Regions from separate parts of the Homo sapiens genome. Here regions 2, 3, 4, 5 and 6 are each linked to region 1. Evidence: promoter capture Hi-C in human tissues and cell types (Jung and others, 2019). All regions are on one chromosome and are shown on one strand. Each heading gives the region's core, a stretch centred on a gene start or on the middle of the fragment in contact. The rest is flanking DNA. Distances are from core to core; before and after follow the strand shown.

Region 1 (3,186 bases), core at 251-2,750:
CCAATCAGACTTGTGGAAGACCAATGGGAAACCTCTAGAAGGTATTTAAACCCCAGAAAATTCTGCAACCTGTGCTTTTGAGCAGCTTGCCACAGCCTGCTTCCACGCAGTGGAGTAGTGTACTTTCATTTAAAATAAATCTCTGCTTTCGCTGCCTTGCTTTATTTGTGTGTTTTGTCCAATTATTTGTTCAAAACGCCAAGGACCTAGCCAACTACCCTCAACTGTTAACAGCTGCACACACATATCAAGGCACACCAGCTTCACCCTGCCTGGAGCTTCTTCCCATGCCTAGTTTTCTCTTACAATTCCGGTCTCTGCTCAATTATCACTTCTAAAAGAGGACTTTATAGAGACCACCATGTGTAAAACAGCTTTTCTACATGCCCCCGCCAGCTAATTTTTATTAGAGTACTTATATTATTTGAAATAATATTTTTACATGCCTCCATCCCCTGGAAAATGAGCTGAGTGAGGGATATTGTTGGAGTATCCCCAGTACCAGGCACACAGTAGGCATTCAATAAATAGTTTTTGAATGATTACATTGTCTACGGAATTCTAACATGTATGGGTGAAACAAAGACTCTCACATGCTGTGAGAAGAAAACAAAAACTGGGTTGGCAGAGGCCTTGAATATGAGGAAGTGGCCTTTCCGGATAAAGAAACTAAGACTCGGCCGGGCGTGGTGGCTCAGGCCTGTAATCTCAGCACTTTGGGAGGCCGAGGCGGACGGATCACCTGAGATCAGGAGTTCGAGACCAGCCTGGCCAACACGGCGAAACCCCGTCTCTACTAAAAATACAAAAAAAAAAAAAAAAAAAAAAAATTAGCCGGGCGTGGTGGCGGAGGCCTGTAATTCCAGCTGTTCGGGAGGCTGAGGCAGGAGAATCGCTTGAACCCGGGAGGAAGAAAGAAAGAGGGAATGAGGGAAGGCGGGAAAGAGGGAAAGAAGAAAAGAAAAGAAAGGAAAGAGAAGAGGGGCGGGGCGGGGCAGGGCAGGGCAGGGCAGGGCAGGGCAAAAAAAGACTCAGTGCAGGAAAGGACTTGCCCAAGGTAATCTAGTACGTGGAAAAGCGGAGGGCAGGAGCCTGTGCCGTGCAAGAGCTCCGGGGAGCCAACACCGAGCGGCCCTTTTGAGAGGGTCCCAGCCCCTGAGATGCGGGAGCCCGCAAGAGGGAACCTCTTGTCTGAAGAGGTTGCTGCGCTCTGGAGTCGTGCTCTGGGACAGATGGGCAAGCTCCGCTCTTGGGGCCGGAAGCGTGTAGCGTCTCCACCCGGGCTCCAATCCCCAGCCTCGCACTCAGCACCAGGCAGAGTTCAGCCTCCCGCCGCAAGCTCCCTTCCGCCGCTCCCGGCGAGCACGCAGGTCTGGCTGTCCGTTGGGCTAGAGCTTAAAAGCCCAACACGGGCGAAAAAGACGCGGTCTCAGTTAACGGGGACGCTTTAGAGAAACGCACTCGCCTCTCCTGTTCCGGTTGGGTCGGCGCGGGCTTCTCAGGCGCCACGTGGGATTCGGCCCGGGTGCTCTTGTGAGCTGCTGCTCCTGCGGTTGGTGAGATTACCTGGGTCTAGAGTGCGGAGCTGCTCCGTGGCCACGAGGACGTCACCATGGTGGGCCCCCTCCTGCTCCCCCGAACCGCTCGGTTGGTTCCCCGGAAGGCTCTTGTTGAGCAGGCAGAGAGGGAGGGTGCGGTTTCGGGAACCTAGGAGAGGGGAGGATGCAAAGTGTTTATTTTCAGGGAGTGTGCGGGGTGCGGGGCGAAGCCTCTGGGAGGCGAGTCCCAGGCCCAACGCCTGGACCTTAGAGTTCCGCGTCCGAGTGCTGAAGTGCTCACACGTCGCCTTGCTCCTCTTTGCCTTGTGCCTAACTTCTCGCTAGTCACTACTTCCTGGGGGAAACCCGGCACCTTTCCATTGTAACGCATCGAGGAGTTTGGCAAAACTTCTGAGATCGCTGGCCCTACACACCTCTGCCTCTCTGGCCTGGGTAGACTCAGTATGTGGGCTTAGTCGCCTCTTCCTCGGCGTCCGTTCACCTCTCGTTAGTGCCCTGAATCCTGCCGTTACGCCCCCATTCGCTCCAGGGCACTGAAGCAGTTTTGTTGTTTTTATTAAAAACTGAGTAGATACAAAAGAGTGTTACTAAAGCACATTTCAAGTGTAAAGATGAACAGTTTCAGGAATTCTCGTTTACCCATTTTGTAGTTTTAAGAAATAAAACATAGCCTTTGAAAGCCCTGTGTTACCTTCTTTGAACTTTCAGGAAACCTTAAGAAGCAAACATTATCTAAGTTTTGTATTTATAATTTCACTACTTTTCTTTATAGTTACTACATATATTTGTATTTTGAAACAGTATGTTGTTTCTTGCCTATTTTTTACGTAATCGTTGTGTTCTTGAGAGTAATTCTTGCATAGAAACATGCTTTATAAATTTTTTTCAATTAATTTTTAATAAAAGCAAAATTTTAAAAGTTTATAATCTGGTCAGAAGTTACGATATTGTGTCCACAATGTGGCCTCTTTGTTTCTTTTCATTTTTTTCTCTTTTCATTGTATGCCATTTTTGTCTTACAGTCTGGTTCTTTCGTTGTTTCGCGAGTTTTTTGTGCTTTATTTTGATCCACTGCTGACGCATATTTTGTACTTTAGATTGTACACATTTGTGTAAATTCAGTGTTTGCTTGTCACTTTGCTTGTGGGATTTCCAACTCTTTATAGTGTTAGTTTTTTTCCCCTTTTCAGAGTGGAATATGAAAGCAATTACATCTCATTGTGTTTGAGTGATTGGGGAGATAGATTGGTATTTGACTGTAGTTGTCCTTGACTATCAGAGCTTCACTTTTTATCAGGCTGTATAGTAGAAGTACGTTGCTTTGGCATAGAAGTCAAAAGAGTGGCATATGAACCTGTTTTCATTGGCTCATTTCTGGCTCTGTCATTTTTTTTTGATATAACCTCATTAGTGGTTTTGCTGCATCCTCTTTCAGTACAGCTCAGAATGTGGTCCCAAAGGACAGAGTTGGGCACCTGTCTTTCCCTGAGTTGCCATCTTGGCAAAATTACTTAACCTCCCATCTGTTTAATTGGGATAACAATAGTACCTACCTCATAGAATTGTGGAAATTAAATGTAAAGTGCTTAGTCTAGTGCCTGGCACTTAGTAAATGTTATTGTTATTA
Region 2 (3,186 bases), core at 467-2,966, 470 kb before region 1:
TGCTGTTATTGAGTAGAATACTCATTTACTTGCTTTATACTTAATATCATAAGATCAATAGTAACACTTATAAATTACACATAAATAATTAAGGCAATTCGTATGTAGAGATAATGCTTGGAAGTTGCCAATGTTTGTTTCATCTGTAATAGGAAGGGGAAACAAGGAAAAAACTAATTCATACAACGACTTAAGATCTGAAGGACAATAATAGAAATAATCAATCATCTTTCCAAAGAAAAATGAATTATGAGCAGAACCACTGCCCAGCTGGGAGATTTAGGAACATTTATTTCAACCAACATTTATTGAGCACTGTTAGATGCCAGGTTCTGGGAGATTCTTTGCTTCACATGGCACTCCAGGCCTATCTGCTTTGTCTTAGAAGACACAATCCTCATTAAGGCTTAGGTCTGTTTTATCTGCAGTGATGGGTGGGGATACACCTAGGCCTGTCACATTCACACAAATTATCACTAATAAAGCATCAAGTCTTAATGGGACAACAATTACTGAGTCAAAAATCTAAGGTAAGGGTCTCGGCAGGCTGGCAAGGGAAGATTCAGCAAATCTGGGCAACACCACAAAGCCTTCTTACCCAGTGAGATAGAAGCATGAAGTGGATTGGTTAATAGAAGATTATTTAAAATAACTATTCACAAAAGAGGTATACACATATGCTTTTATTTTTTATTACATTTATTTACAATCTTTTGGTTGTCAGGTCCAAGACTTTTCTTTGGGTAAACATCCAAGAGCAGACTCTCTGTCTTTCTTGCATCAACCACACTCAGAATGTATTATCTAAGATTTCTAGTTTGTGGCTTCTAAAAGTAGAATAAGGACATAGAGACCTTTAAAGGCAACTTGACCTCACAGAATCTCCCCTTGGATTTCAAGTTTTTCATGACTTTCCTTCTGTTATTTCAGAGTCATCTAATGCACACCTATTTTGAAAGTGTTTTTAAGTCTTCGAAAATATTGAACTTAATTTTCATGTTTTTTTCCAGTTCATATTTTACCATTTTTGGAAAGAGGTAAATTACATAATTATAAAAGCAATTCAACCAGCATAGCAGGTTTAATTGCTAACAGGGTTGACTTGTGGTAAGGCTTGTAAGAGCAGAAGTGCATGGGTATGCAGAAGTTGCACACTAGTGGCAAGCATTCAGTAAGTTGTGGGTATCAGTCAGTATTAAACAAAGGGAAAGGAAAGCATCAATTAGTCCAAATGAAGGACTCAACTCATGATGTCCAATGCAAGATGCCACAATGCAATTACTTCAATAGAGAAACTCAGTAGTCTGCAGTCTTCTATCAAGGTCAACTCTTAGAGCTAGCTCAGCTTTCCTGGGTCTTATGAGTTAGAGTTTGCTTATAGGAACTCTGATTTCCCTGAAAGAAAAATATTATCTTTACTTAGGCTGAAATCTTCAGTGTGACAAAATAATCTTCTGGGTGCCTCAGAAATATGCTTGGGGAGCTTTTGCAGTTTATTGCTGAATGTAGTGTCCTCAAAACACATGTTCATTTCATAATTATTATATTCAGACTGTGTCCATAAGAGATAACACTGTTGACCCTAAATTTAGAAATATTTAGTGTTTGGGAACACCAGAATAGCAATATAAATATAAAATATTTGCAGAAATATTGTTCATAATACCTTTCTAGACCATAAAAACCATTGTTGTGTTTTCCAGTTCACTAAATTAAATACTAATAACCTTTTCTACCATGCTTCCTGAAAGCTTTTCAACATGACAAAATTCCAAATTGCAGAAGCTTTTAGGCAGAAAATTGTTAAACAAAATATTCAGTATTTATCATGAAGTAAATTCTCTAAGAACCGAGCATGATGATGTGTGCCTGTAATCCCAACTACTCACGAGGATGAGGTAGAAGAATGGCTTGAGCCTAGGAGTTTGACAGCAGCCTGGGCAACATAGCAAAGCCTCATCTGAAAAAAAGTATGGAAATTCCCTAAAGAACCCAGCAGTCATAAAAGTTTCCTGATGAAAATATGCTTCATCCATGATATGATTCATAAAAGCTTGTGAATCTCTGGTTCCCAGAAGGTAATCAATCAAAGCCCATTATATACAAAGTGCTCCAGTTTTTCCTTAGTGCTCTAATGGAGCTTATGTTTGTTTTTAAATTCCAATAAGCTAAAGAGCACATATGTATACTTTCAATGCTGTCAACAAGATTTACTGTCATTTTTAAATGGTCTTTTAAAAGATTTGTCTAAGTGAGTGAAATCTTCCAATTTAGAGCCATTTTTCTAACTGAAATAAAAGCCAAAAGATATATTTTCTCCTTAAGCATTAAATTTCCTTAAACATCGAGTTCTATGTCTAACATATAATTTTGAAAAGTCATTATTTTATAGAATTAAAAGTAAAGCAGTAACTTTTTGAGGCACACAATAATGTTTTGGGTTCACATAATATAGAAGTTTAACTGTAGTAAATGCTGAATAAATGCCAAGATTGTTTCTGTGTGTAAATGCAGTGGACAAATACATTCATTTAATAGCTAAAGGATGTGCGGCTTAATGCCTCGGTGATGGGTTGACAGGTGCAGCAAACCACCATGGCACACGTTTACCTATGTAACAAACCTGCGTGTTCTGCCCATGTATCCTGGAATCTAAAATAAAATGAAATTTTAAAAAATTCACTCAACAAGCACTAATAAAACAAGCCTTAATAAATGTACAGACGGTATTAAGTCTATTGGAAATGGTACCACAATGTGTGACTTTTAGCAGTGTGTTCTAATTTCTGTTATTCAAAGGATTATTTTCAGCATTTTTTACCTCAACTTTTTGTGATGTTTAATATTGCCCACAATACCCTCCTTGAGATACTGCCATTCCTTTATTTTCATTACATGGCATTTTCTTTTATTTTCCTTTTTTTTTTTTTTTTAGACAGAGTCTTGTTCTGTTGCCCAGGCTGGAGTGCACTGGTGCGATCTCGGCTCACTGCAACCTCCGCCTCCTGGGTTCAAGCGATTCTCCTGCCTCAGCCTCCTGAGTAGCTGGGACTACAGGCACCCATCATCACACCCAGCTAATTTTTGTATTTTTGAGTAGAGATGGGGTTTTGCCATGTTGGCCAGGCTGGTCTCGAACTCCTGACCTCGTGGTCTGCCAGCCTCGGCCTCCCAAAGTGCTGGGAT
Region 3 (3,186 bases), core at 368-2,867, 450 kb before region 1:
TCTTCTTTCAAATATAGCTACTCTGGAATTCAGGAGAAGAAACACATATAAAAACACAAAGAAAAACCATGTTAAGCCTATGCAATTGAGGGGATAGATGTGTTTTATGGAGGAAAATATGATGCTGGATCAATAATTGAGGAGAAATTATATTACAAATATTACAAAAGAAAGAAAACAGTGAGAGAATTATCTACATTTTCACCTCATCAGTCACTGCCTACAACTTGTGGCTAAATTTGAGTGAAAAGTTACTATCTAATCAATTCCAAAGCTTCTAAAAGTAGGAGACCTACTGTTATGTAAATCATCACCTGATTTCACAGTTAAATGTGTAAAAGTGAACAGTCTTTCACCAATTTTCTAGGCGACTGTGCTAAAGCTATCTTTAGAGAAATGAAATGTGACAGCAGTATAATTTCATTAGATATGTGGCCTATTTTAAAGCCTGAATGGGGGTAGGGGAGGGAAATAAAAGGGCTATTGTAAAAATTTATGCAGATTATAATAAAGGCAAACAGAGTAGTAGAGAAGTAGAATGTAACTGTCATAGCTGGCTTCCCAGGAGGTGAACTCTGAGATGTAGAATAGTGCTCAAGAAGTGTATTACAACTTCATACATATTCCTAGAATCAACTTTTGGGATGAGAAGGGAAGGAGAGGAAGCTGTATTTGCAGAGGAAAAAGTTTTACTGATGTACACTTGTAATAAGGAACTCTACAGCTGGAATCACCCTTCAGAGACTTCCTGAGTTGAGACAAAGACATCAAACTTTTTTCTCCTCAGGCTTCTCAGGGATGACTGAGACAGCAAACTTGTATAATCCTCTCCCCAGCCCCCACTTCCACATCAACCATGGGTTGGATTCAGGCTGCCCTGGGGAAGGGAGTTGTTGAGGTAAGTTAACAGGAGAAGGTCAATAATTGATCATTATCAGCAGGCATCATTCCCAGCAGCTGGGAGAGTAAGTCCTTCGGTTCTGAAAGGGGAACTGGACAGTGCATCACAGCATCTAATGCCATTTACTCTTTGGTCACTCAGATCCACTTCATGTAAGTTCAGGAAACAGCTCCTCCAGGATTCTGATAGTCCTCTTTTCTTGGGAAGAAACAGAACGGGGAGGTTTGTGGGATGAACTCTAGCGCGCACAGAGTCTCACGACTATTACTCATCTTTTCCTTTCCCTGCTATCCATTCTAGATCCTGCTTGCCTTCAGCTGGTGCCACTGCTGGACTAGGTGGCTCACCTGATGGGCATGAGCCAAATCCTCATCCTTGCAGGCTCTCAGCCTCTGGCCACCAGTTCTTTCTCAGGCAATGACTATTATACCCATTTACACTGAAAACTGGGCAAGAGAGTACCAAGAGACAACCAAGTGGATAGCTAGATGTCAAAGAGATGCCTCCATTCCCCCACTGTGTAATGACACCACGACTTCCTCCTGATAATCTGGGTGTATTATTTCTGCCAGGATGATGAATGCTCTTTAAAGCTGGCAACTTTTCATGTAACTCTTTTAGAAGCTTTTCCCTCTCTGGGAACCAGGATCTCTAAATCTGCAGAAGCCATGATTGTGGCGCTAGAAAGTACAGATGATAGTTAGCAGGAGAATGCTTACTTCTGCCCCTTAGCTCCCAGACCCATGTATTCTAACAACTGAAGACACAGCACCACACACTAGTCCTTGATTTAACTTGCATATTGCATCCTGGAGGATGGCAGCTCATCTTGCAGTGCATCATATCGGGCTTGTGCTTCAGTTGAGCCTCCCATGAACTATGCCATTGCTCTATAATCCCTGCAGGTCCCGGGTGGTATAGTATGTGACAGAACCTGTAGACCTTTTGGTTCATATTTTCATTGGTAAACCTCCTTTCCTGTTAAGTAGGCTCTCTGATGTGATGTTGCATGGGTTACCATATCAATGGATCAGACGCATGTCAGCCCTTGAATATGGGTTTTGGCTAAAGCCCCAAAAGTAGGAAAGGCAAACCTGGAGCTGAAAAATGTAACATATTTCCATCAAAATTAATTGTTTCTCCTCAGGGTAGAAAAAGAGCAATGATGCCCACTTGCCACCAGGTGGCTGCTTCATCTTCTGAAGACCAAGGTCCTCCCCATCAGTTACCATTGTAGGCAGTTGGGACTTTTGGCAGCGGCAATGGCTAGATCAGATGTGCAGCAGTTGTCCCTTAAGTGCAAGTTTGCTTTCCAGGGTCTTCGTGGCCTGTGGTACAGAGAGAGGGAGACCACATTCACATAACTTTCCTTACAGTATATTGTTATAATTATTCTATTTTCTTAGTGCTGTTTTTAATATCTTACTGTGCCTAATTTATAGACAAATCTTTATCATAGATACATGTGTATATGAAAAAAACAGAGTATATACAGGGTTCAGTACTATTCACAGTTATAGGTATCCACTGGGGGTCTTGGAACATAGCCCTCACAGATAAAGGGGGACTGCTATAGTTAGGGGGGACCTGTGCTGTTGGACTTTATATATATGGTCTCCATCTCTGCCAACAAGGTCACTGTTTCTGTGCCCACTGGGCCAGTGCTGGTGTGGCCAATCACCCAGGCTGGTAGGGTCAACTGGCTGAGCCATTCGTTCTCTTGGTTGTTCAGTGCTTCTTCCATCATGGGTGCTCTCTGGTTGGTGTTGACATGAGATACAAAGATCTTGCCATGGCTGTATCATTTCATTGTCCTCACTAAGTACTACTATCAGATCCATTTTCCTCAAACACTGCTTTATTTAAGTTATCCTCCTCGTTTAAAAGCATCAAAAGTGTTCCCCTTTTTCCTAAAGAAAAAATGAAACCAAAATTGTAAAACCTTCTCTAACCTTGTTCTAATTAACCTCTCTACTCCATACACAAAATATCGATGCAAATCGGAATGGTCTACATATCATCCCCCACAAATACGCAATTGGATTGCTTCTTTTGTGCTTTGCCCATACCATTTTACCCTTTTGAAAAGCTCTTCCTTCTCCTATTCATCTTTCAAAATGATCTAGATGAAAATATACATGGTAATCTAAGATCCGGCAGTGATCTCTCTCCCCTCTAGATTTTATCTTGAGAATACTATGGTGCATAGAGCACCCTATTAAAAATTCTTTGCATATAATCTCTCAGCCACTCTCATATCATTGTTCTGCTTTGTAATTTACCTT
Region 4 (3,186 bases), core at 180-2,679, 400 kb before region 1:
GCTTCACAGACAGCCCCCATTACTTCAGTCAAGCCCAGATTTCTTCCTCATCTGTTACCTATCTCAGCATAATTCTCATAAAAACACACGTGCTCTCCCTGCTGATCGTCTCTGATTAATCTCCCAAACCTCAATCCCTTACAAAAGAACAACTCCTTTCCTTCCTAGGCATAGTTAGTGCGGTCAGAATTCTTACTCAAGAGCCAGGACCACACCCTGTAGCCTTTCTGTCCAAACAACTTGACCTTACTGTTTTAGCCTAGCCCTCATGTCTGCGTGCAGTGGCTGCCACTGCTTTAATACTGTTAGAGGCCCTAAAAATCACAAAGTATGCTCAGCTCACTCTCTACATTTCTCATAACTTCCAAAATCTATTTTCTTCCTCATACCTGACGCATATACTTTCTGCTCCCCGGCTCCTTCAGCTGTACTCACTCTTTAAGTCCCACAATTACCATTGTTCCTGGCCCGGACTTCAATCCGGCCTCCCACATTATTCCTGATACCACACCTGACCCCCATGACTGTATCTCTCTGATCCACCTGATATTCACCCCCATTTCCCCATATTTCCTTCTTTCCTGTTCCTCACCCTGATCATGCTTGCCTCGTGCTATCCCCAAACTGCCATTCTTAACTCTTGAAGTAAATAAATAATCTTTGCTGGCAGGGCTATGCTGAATCTCCTTAGGCACTCTCTAATCAGATGTCCTGAGTAGTCCCAATTCTTAGACCTTTTATACCTGTTTTTCTCCTCCTCTTATTCCATTTAGTTTTTCAATTCATGCAAAACCGTATCCAGGCCATCACCAATCATTCTACACAACAAATGTTTCTTCTAACAACCCCACAATATCACCCCTTACCACAAAATCTTCCTTCAGCTTAATCTCTCCCACTTTAGGTTCCCACGCCGCCCCTAATCCCGCTCGAAGCAGCCCTGAGAAACATCGCCCATTCTCTCTCCACAACAACCCCCCAAAATTTTCGCCGCCCCTAGACTTCAACATTATTTTATTTTTCTTATTAATATAAGAAGGCAGGAATGTCAGGCCTCTGAGCCCAAGCCAAGCCATCGCATCCCCTGTGACTTGCACATATACATCCAGATGGCCTGAAGTAACTGAAGATCCACAAAAGAAGTAAAAATAGCCTTAACTGATGACATTCCACCATTGTGATTTGTTCCTGCCCCATCCTAACTAATCAATGTACTTAGTAATCTCCCCACCCTTAAGAAGGTTCTTTGTAATTCTCCCCACCCTTGAGAATGTACTTTGTGAGATCCACCCCTGCCCGCAAAACATTGCTCTTAACTTCATCGCCTATCCCAAAACCTATAAGAACTAATAATAATCCACCACTCTTTGCTGACTCTCTTTTCGGACTCAGCCCGCCTGCACCCAGGTGAAATAAACAGCTTTATTGCTCACACAAAGCCTGTTTGGTGGTCTCTTCACAGGGACGCACATGAAACTGATGGCTTCTGTACACTTAGTGAGAACTCAGGAAGAAGAAAATAATTTCCCTTTTATGGATTCATCTGAGCTGAGCACCAGATCCAGGACCTTCTAGTGAGCTTCAACAGTTTCATAACAAAATACATAAATGTGCTAACAATACTTGCCTCCTTTTCCTTTCGATCATTCTAAGACTTACTGGTGATCAAAGATAATTTTATATATATATATATTTTTTAAATGGCCCTTTTAGAGTTTTCCCGTAGTTCATTCAAATTGCTCTTATTGGCTTAACTATTCCCTGCATCAATGTATGATGATCGATCCTCTCATTTACCTAATATAGGAAGTCAAGGACCTAAATGAAAAATATTTATCTTACTGTTACAGTAAAACGGAATGACTTTCATTCCAAGTTCTACTTTGCTTTCTATACGTACGTGTTATTACATCTTGCGATTCCTTTTTTTATTCACCTGTGAAAAGTGAATCACATAAATATGTTATTTTTATTCATCTAGGAAAGTTAAATGTATTATTCACAGATAAGATTATGCAGCAAGACAATGGCCACACTGTCAGACTTGAGAGAAAATTTTAAAAATTAATGATTTTTCCCAACAGTATATCAACAACCAATTTTGAAGTACTTCGTTCATAGAAATTTTTATAGTGTAGAGAAAGAATCATTAAAATTTAGCTAGAGTCAGAAGGAAGAGGAGAGCAAGTCAGAAGATACGATGTAGAGAAAATCCTCCTACTGGGTGTTATGGGGAAGAGGGAGAGAGAGGTGGTACATGGTCGAATGTGTGCAAATTAATTTTAGGTTCTCTAGGCTCTATGTGTTTTGGGAGATGAGGGGTGGCGAGTGAGAGAAAGATACTTAGATACTATATGAGATAAGACCAAGGTGGGTTGGGCTGGGGGATCCAGGAGAAAGCAGCTCCCCAGCTGCCCCCTATCCACCTACTGGGGCACAGCCCCTGCAGAATAAACCTGGCAGCCTGAAGTTGAGCTTTCTTGAGTCATTCTGTACCATCTTTCAAGAGGTTTTGCCAAGAAAAATTTGGAACTTGGAAAAATTTTGGTACAACCAACGTGTGCCACCCATCAGCTGACAGAGGTACATTGGTCCCAGCCCCAGGAGTAGGGCAATGCCTATTTATTCTACTGAATGGTTTGTTTGAGTGAAAGTTAAGCAGGCTCTCTTCATTTTTCAAAACTAAACCTTTACTAAGGGCAACTTAAACATTCAACAGTTAAGTTTACTTTCTTATAGAAGAAGTCTTTCAAGTTAAACAAAAACTTAAATCAAAATCAATGCACTTATCACTTAACTTTTGTTTATGGTTCTTATTATTCATCACTTCTCTTTCTCGCTGCAGAGAAACACTCTTAATTTCTTTCAGATGCTTCAGTTCTGAGATATCAGGACTTTAACAGTACTGATCTCAGAGATTTCTTTTGGAGTAAACAACTAAGAAATTTCTTTTTGCTGCAGGCTGTGACTTCAAATTCAGTTTCTTTCTCTTTCATCTATCATAGGGTGAACTACCAAAAGAAAAAAGAAAACAGCCCGTTTTTTCTGATTGTTTCTCCCTGTTTTTATCTTCAACATAAGAAGCAGAAATAGGGCTGAAGGTAAAGAGAAAAAAAGAGGCTACATGTCTGTGTTTCAATGCTGAAAAGTCAAAAAAATGCCCAAGCCTAATCTCGTATAATATAA
Region 5 (3,186 bases), core at 397-2,896, 360 kb before region 1:
AACCAGAAAAAATAAAATTGGAGAAGCTTACAAAGAACCTTATTGTGCCATTTTAAATAATTGAACATCATCTTAAGAGCAGGAGGGAGGAAGTAAGGATTTTAATTGGGAATAGTTTATTTCAGAGAGATTACTCTGGTAGTATTTTGCTATCACTCCTAAAATCAGAGAAAAATTCATGTTTCTTATATGCAAATTAATTCAAATTTCCATTCATTAAATACATTTATTCAACCATAAAGTATACGGTGGCATATTAAAAATGGCTATGAAGATGAACATGATACAACCGTAGGTAATTTTTAGGTCCTTTATGCAGCCCAACATTTCATAGCACATAATTTCTCTTATTTTCCTTTATGCAAGCTTTCTATTTTCACATCACGCAATGTTTCTCCTTTTTCTCTTTTTAAGTTTAAACCTCACAAATTTCTAATTTTAATCTATGATCAATACCAGGCAATAATTCTAGACTACAAAGTTTCACCAACAAATATTACAAAATTAAATCCCAAGATACTTAATGATCCAGTTCAAGCTACCTGGAAAAAACAAACACCATGAACTAGGTGAGATGTAATTTTGCAATTAACCTAGTCAAACCAATTTTACAAATAACTCGCATTGTTGTAATTGGTAACTTCAATGCTTAGGTCCGAAACAAGAGGGATTCATTAGAATATCTGGATTTTGGCCAGGTGCGGTGGCTCACGCCTGAAATCTCAGCACTTTGAGAGGCAGAGAGGGGTGGATTACTGGAGGTCAGGAGTTCAAGACTAGCCTGGACAACATTGTGAAACCCCGTCTCTAATAAAAATACAAAATTAGCTGGGCGTGGTGGCATGCGCCTGTAATCTCAGCTACTCAGGAGGCTGAGGCAGGAGAATTGCTTGAACCCGGAGGCAGAGTTTGCGGTGAGCTGAGACCGTGCCACTGCATTGCAGCCTGGGCAGAAAGAGCAAAACTCCATCCCCTACCCAAAAAAAGAAAAAAAGAATATCTGGATTTTAAAAGAAATATGATTTGAGATGTTTATGAATCTCTAAACACGTTTAAAACATGTAATTCCAGTAATAAGATGCTATAGATACTCTAAAACTTAATTCAGAACATTAAGTGAATATTCAGAGCCTTAACTGAAATCACATAAATACATAACATTAATTAGAAAACATAATTCCATTTCAATTCAGATACTAAGCAAGGATCATTCACTGGTTAAGTGATTCATACCTGTATAGAACCCTCCAAGTGGGCATAAACCTGATTCATACCTCAGTAAAATTAGAAACACAGATCATGATTTACGATTGCTTTAAACATCTAAAATGGCCAAGGTTAAATCGGTAAGTATCAAAAATCTGTAATACTGGCTGGGCAAGGGGCTCATGCCTGTAATCCCAGCACTTTGGGGAGCCAAGGCAGAAGCTTGCTTGAGGGCTGGAGAATCACTTGAGGCCAAGAGCTTGAGACCAGCCTGGGCAACACACTGAGACCCCCATGTCTATATTTGTTAAAAAAAAAAAAAACAAAAAAAAAACTGTAATACTGAGAAAACTTCATAAGAACTGCTGAGCAAGCTTTAAAAACTCTCATGTATAATTTTTACTTATAAAAATATTTATATACATTTTTATTTTATACTGTATAAATACATGCTATTTTTAAGAAATGAATATATTCATTGTTGTAATTCAAAAAAAAAACCCCTCAAGATAATCTGCTTAAACACTTTCATGGAATGTTAACCAAGTAATCCTATTAAATCATTAACTTATTTACATATTATTCCTAAATTTACTTCACATCTCTAGGAAGACTAGATTATCAAGTCACCTTGGGGCATAAAACTATTGTTTTGCTGACATAGATACAAAAAGAAAATCAAGGTCTCTTTTTAGAAAGGTAGTTATATCGTAAAAAGTAGAGAGGTAGGTAGCTTCCAATGATCTTGTGCTTCCAATGATTCTGTACTTCCAAAAGAAGGACAGCTATTAAAAGCACCATGTCTTCATGTCCCATATGGTGTATTTACTAAACTCAATTAAATTTTTAAAAAATAATGACAGCCTGCCTTTATCAGACATCAACAAAGTTGACAAAAATAGTAAACTACAATGTAAATGATAAGGTGATAATTATTAAAATACAACTAAATGTAACTGAAAAAAGTTTTTTTCCTAAATGATCAATCAAAACCTTTCACTGAAAGGTATGAAATAGTCATCTAGGACGGTGAGAGAATACATGCGCTAGGACAGGATAAGGCAGTATGGCTGCTAGCCAGTATTAATGACTTCCCTAACAGCAAGAATGATAAAATTTATAAGATTAAGTCCTGCCCTACTTTATAAAATGTTGCATAAAAAGACTTATACTTACCTCTGGTGGTGGTTCCTGATCATTCTTCCATGATGCATCTGATCCCTTATCCCTGAGTGGGGTGGGGATGGGAGTCAAAAAAGTATTCATCACAATTCTATTAAGTGCTCATAACTTAAAAGTACAGAAAATAATAAAGTAAAGGACATGAGTTCAACCTTTAATTTTGCAATACAGTTATGTGTCTTTTACCTTATTTCAAAAGATGTGGGAAGCTCCTAAGAAAAACACAAAAGTTGAGCAAGTAGAAATATTAGGATTAGGGAACTGGAATGAGAAGCCAAGGCTATGGTGTGCAGTGGAAAGCAGATGGACAGCTCTTTTGATTTTTGTTTTCATAATATTTGCAGTTTTCACAAAACTCAGTTTAAAAAAAATGCTTATTTCACGCCAACTGTAGATCAGAAGTTGTTCCATGTGCGAAGGACATAAAAATGACTATGAGGCATTCCCTTTTCACAGATTTTACAGGTTTAATGGCAGAGATATCAATATGAATTATTTTCTCCTCAGTTTACCTGAGGAATGTCAGCAATCCTCTATGAGTAACCAAGGCTTATTCCAACACTGATTCTCAAAGCAGTGAGGGTCAAACAAAGGCTAACTATGAATAGTTGGAGGAAGAGGAAGAGAAGCTGCTTTAAAGATTCTGAAGGACAATATAATGACTGGCATGTGTGAAATGTGTAATTGCAGCTGAAAATCAACAACTTTTGGTGGAGAGTTTTACACTTTACATCCAACAAAAGTACAGATATCTATTATGAGCAGTATAATTTGTGAAAGCTCATTTTTAATCTTTTT
Region 6 (3,186 bases), core at 316-2,815, 270 kb before region 1:
GCATGGTGAGACCCCGTCTCTACTAAAAATACAAAAATTAGCCTGGTATAGTGGTGTGCACCTGTAATCCCAGCTACTAGAGAGGCTAAGGCAGGAGAATCAACTGAACCCAGGAGGCGGAGGTTGCAGTGAGCCCAGATCATGCCACTGCACTCCAGCCTGGGAGACAGAGCAAGACTCCATCTCAAAACAAACAAACAAACAAAAAACAACTACAAAAAAAAAAAAAACATAAAGAACCAAATCCAATCCAAGACCATTCAGATTCCAGATAAAAAAGCTGCAGGAAGGTGTCTTGTGTCTATGGTTTCTGGACAAAAATTCTCTGAAATGGAATTTGAAGAAAAGAGACATTATTCCAGTGAACAGCTTACAAGCCAAGAAGATGGAGCTATCAGTGAAAAAGAATAATGCAGTCCCTGGAAGTCCAAGCCAGAGCAATCAGACGAGAGAAAATACAGGGAATCCAAATCAGTAAAGAGGAAGATGAACTGTCTCTGTATGCCAGTGATATGATCGTATACCTAGAAAACCCTAACCACTCATCCAAAAAACTCCTGGAACTGATAGGTGAATTCAGTAAAGTTTCAAGATACAAAGTACACAAATCAGTAGCATTGCTATACACCAATAACGACCAAGCTGAGAATTAAATCAAGAACTCAATCTCTTTTACAATAACTGCAAAAAATAAATAAATGAAATACATAGGAATATACCTAAACAAAGAGATGAAAGACCTCTAAAAGGAAAACTACAAAACACTGCTGAAAGAAATCATAGACGACACAAACAAATGGAAATACATCCCATGCTCATGGATGGGTAGAATCGATATTGCGAAAATGACCATACTGCCAAAAGCAATCTACAAATTCAATGCAATTCCCAACAAAATACCACCATCATTCTTCACAGAACTAGAAAACAAAATCCTAAAATTCATATGAAACCAAAAAAGAGCCCACATAGCCAAAGCAACACTAAACAAAAAGAGCAAATCTGGAGGCATCACATTACTCACCTTCAAACTATACTACCAGGCTATGGTCACCTTGTATGCTCAAAACAGCGTGGTACTGGCATAAAAACAGACACATAGATCAATGGAACAGAATAGAGAACCCAGAAATAAACCTAAATACTTACAGCCAACTGATATTCAACAAAACAGACAAAAACAGAAAGTGGGGAAAGGATGCCCTGTTCAACAAATGGTACTAGGATAATTGGCAGGCCACATGTAGAAGAATGAAACTGGATCCTCATCTCTAACCTTATACGAAAATCAACTGAAGACAGATTAGATTTAAATCTAACATCTGAATCCATAAAAATTCTAGAAGATAACATTAGAAAAACCTTTCTAGACATTGGCTTAGGCAAAGATTGACTAAGAACCCAAAAGCAAATGTAACAAAAACAAAGATAAATAGACGGGACTTAATTAAACTAAAAAGCTTCTGCGTAGCAAAAGAAAAAACAGCAGAATAAACAGACGACCCACAGAGTTGGAGAAAATCTTTGCCAAGTATGCATCCGACAAAGGACTAATATCCAGAATCTACAATGAACTCAAACAAATCAGTAAGTAAAAAACAAACAATCCTATCAAAAAGTGGTCTAAGGAAATGAATAGACAATTCTCAAAAGAAAATATACAAATGACCAACACACATGTGAAAAAATGCTCAACATCACTAATGATCAAGGAAATGCAAGTCAAAACAACATTGTGATACCATTTTACTCCTGCAGGAATGACCATAATTTAAAAACTAAAAAAAAAGAATAGATATTGCTGTGGAGGTGGTGAAAAGGGAACACTTTTACACTGTTGGTGGAAATGTAAACTAGTACAACCACTATGGAAAGCAGTGTGGAGATTCCTTACAAAACTAAAAGTAGATTTACCATTTGATCCAGCAAACTCACTACTGGGTATCTATCTATCCAGAGGAAAATAACTAATTATATGAAAAAGACACTAACACATACATGTTTAAAGCAGCACAATTAGCAATTGCAAAAATATGGAACCAGCCCAATGCCCATCAATCAATGAGTGGATAAAGAAAATGTGATATACATACCATAGAATACTATTCATTCATAAAAAAATGAATTAATGGCATTCACAGCAACCTGGATAGAGTTGGAGACCATTACTCTTAGTGAACTAACTCAGGAATGGAAAACCAAACATCGTATGTGCTCACTTATAAATGGGAACTAAGCTTTGAGGACTCAAAGGAATAAGAATAATACAATGGACTTTGAGGACTCAGAGGGAATTGTGGGCAGGGTGAGGGATAAAAGACTAACATTGGATACAGTGTACACTACTTGGGTGATGGGTGCACCAAAATGTCAGAAATCATCACTAAATAACTTATGTAACCAAACACCACCTGGTCCCCCAAAACCTATTGAAATATAAAAATAAAAATAAAGAATAGTGAAATCCAGAGAACAAAAGGAAGTTTCAGCTTTTATAGAGAAAGTTCCCACCCAGCTTCCCAATCAGATTGAAAAATGAAAAATTCAAAGGTCCCATTTCTAATTGGTTGACACAGTTGAATTCTGATTACTCAATATAGTTGATCCCTGATTGGTTGTTATAGCTAAGAACTAAGCATTGGCTGGTTGATATAACTGACCCCTGATTGGCCAGAGCAGATGAGCGCTGATTGGTTGGTTCCTGTGACCTCTGAAAGTCCCAAAGTTAAACAGAGGTGTGGGTTTTGGGGGAATGCAGACTGTGTGACCCCTAGTAAGAAAATGGCCACTTGGCTCTATTTTACAAGGTGTTGTTCTGTCATCCAGGCCACAGTGCAATGGTGAGAATGTAGCTCACTGAAGCCTTAAACACCTGAGCTCAAGGTATCCTCCCACCTCAGCCTCTGGAGTAGTTAGGAATAAAGGCACACTCCACCAAACTCAGCTAATTTTACATTTTTTTGTAGAGACAGAGTCTTTTTATTCTGCCCATTCTGGTCTCAAACTGTTGGCCTCAAGCAATCCTCCTGCCTTGACTTCTCAAACCTCTAGGATTACAGGCATGAGCCACCACCAAGCCCAGCCTCTGTTTTAAATTTAGATACAGTTAGCCACTTGAAATCCTTCTTGAAGGATTGGCTCTTCCAGTTTCATATCTGCTCACAGGTTTATCAGTCATAATATATA

What was found. The method cuts DNA at HindIII sites, captures the fragments that hold promoters and counts their contacts. A contact is called where the count stands out against the background at its distance.
Region 2: a fragment that was not itself captured here is called in contact with the fragment with the promoter of TMA16 in region 1 in 1 of the 25 tissues and cell types used here (mesenchymal stem cells).
Region 3: a fragment that was not itself captured here is called in contact with the fragment with the promoter of TMA16 in region 1 in 1 of the 25 tissues and cell types used here (hippocampus).
Region 4: a contact is called between a fragment that was not itself captured here and the fragment with the promoter of TMA16 in region 1, in 1 of the 25 tissues and cell types used here (lymphoblastoid cells).
Region 5: a fragment that was not itself captured here is called in contact with the fragment with the promoter of TMA16 in region 1 in 4 of the 25 tissues and cell types used here (H1 embryonic stem cells, aorta, heart left ventricle and 1 more).
Region 6: a contact is called between a fragment that was not itself captured here and the fragment with the promoter of TMA16 in region 1, in 1 of the 25 tissues and cell types used here (mesenchymal stem cells).

Annotation. Positions count from the first base shown.
Region 1 is chr4:163,493,190-163,496,375 of GRCh38, forward strand. TMA16 (translation machinery associated 16 homolog) reads left to right here and starts at 1,501. Exons shown (of 7, transcript NM_018352.3): 1 at 1,501-1,615. The coding sequence starts at 1,613. It overlaps LOC124900805 (a long non-coding RNA gene), which reads right to left and starts at 2,035. Exons shown (of 2, transcript XR_007058354.1): 1 at 1,973-2,035; 2 at 1-1,707. RefSeq lists a cis regulatory region at 1-110 and enhancers at 1,392-2,294, 1,758-1,897, 1,928-2,077. The HindIII fragment of the contact is 18,907 bases long and covers 1-3,186 here.
Region 2 is chr4:163,027,409-163,030,594 of GRCh38, forward strand. No RefSeq gene overlaps it. Among named protein-coding and RNA genes, the nearest start is that of MIR4454, 65 kb to the right of the region's middle. The HindIII fragment of the contact is 3,488 bases long and covers 1-3,186 here.
Region 3 is chr4:163,046,561-163,049,746 of GRCh38, forward strand. No RefSeq gene overlaps it. Among named protein-coding and RNA genes, the nearest start is that of MIR4454, 45 kb to the right of the region's middle. The HindIII fragment of the contact is 5,549 bases long and covers 1-3,186 here.
Region 4 is chr4:163,096,436-163,099,621 of GRCh38, forward strand. No RefSeq gene overlaps it. Among named protein-coding and RNA genes, the nearest start is that of MIR4454, 4.4 kb to the left of the region's middle. The HindIII fragment of the contact is 7,940 bases long and covers 1-3,186 here.
Region 5 is chr4:163,134,817-163,138,002 of GRCh38, forward strand. NAF1 (nuclear assembly factor 1 ribonucleoprotein) reads right to left here. Exons shown (of 8, transcript NM_138386.3): 6 at 2,383-2,434. Among named protein-coding and RNA genes, the nearest start is that of NAF1, 30 kb to the right of the region's middle. The HindIII fragment of the contact is 4,272 bases long and covers 1-3,186 here.
Region 6 is chr4:163,223,009-163,226,194 of GRCh38, forward strand. No RefSeq gene overlaps it. Among named protein-coding and RNA genes, the nearest start is that of NAF1, 58 kb to the left of the region's middle. The HindIII fragment of the contact is 4,814 bases long and covers 1-3,186 here.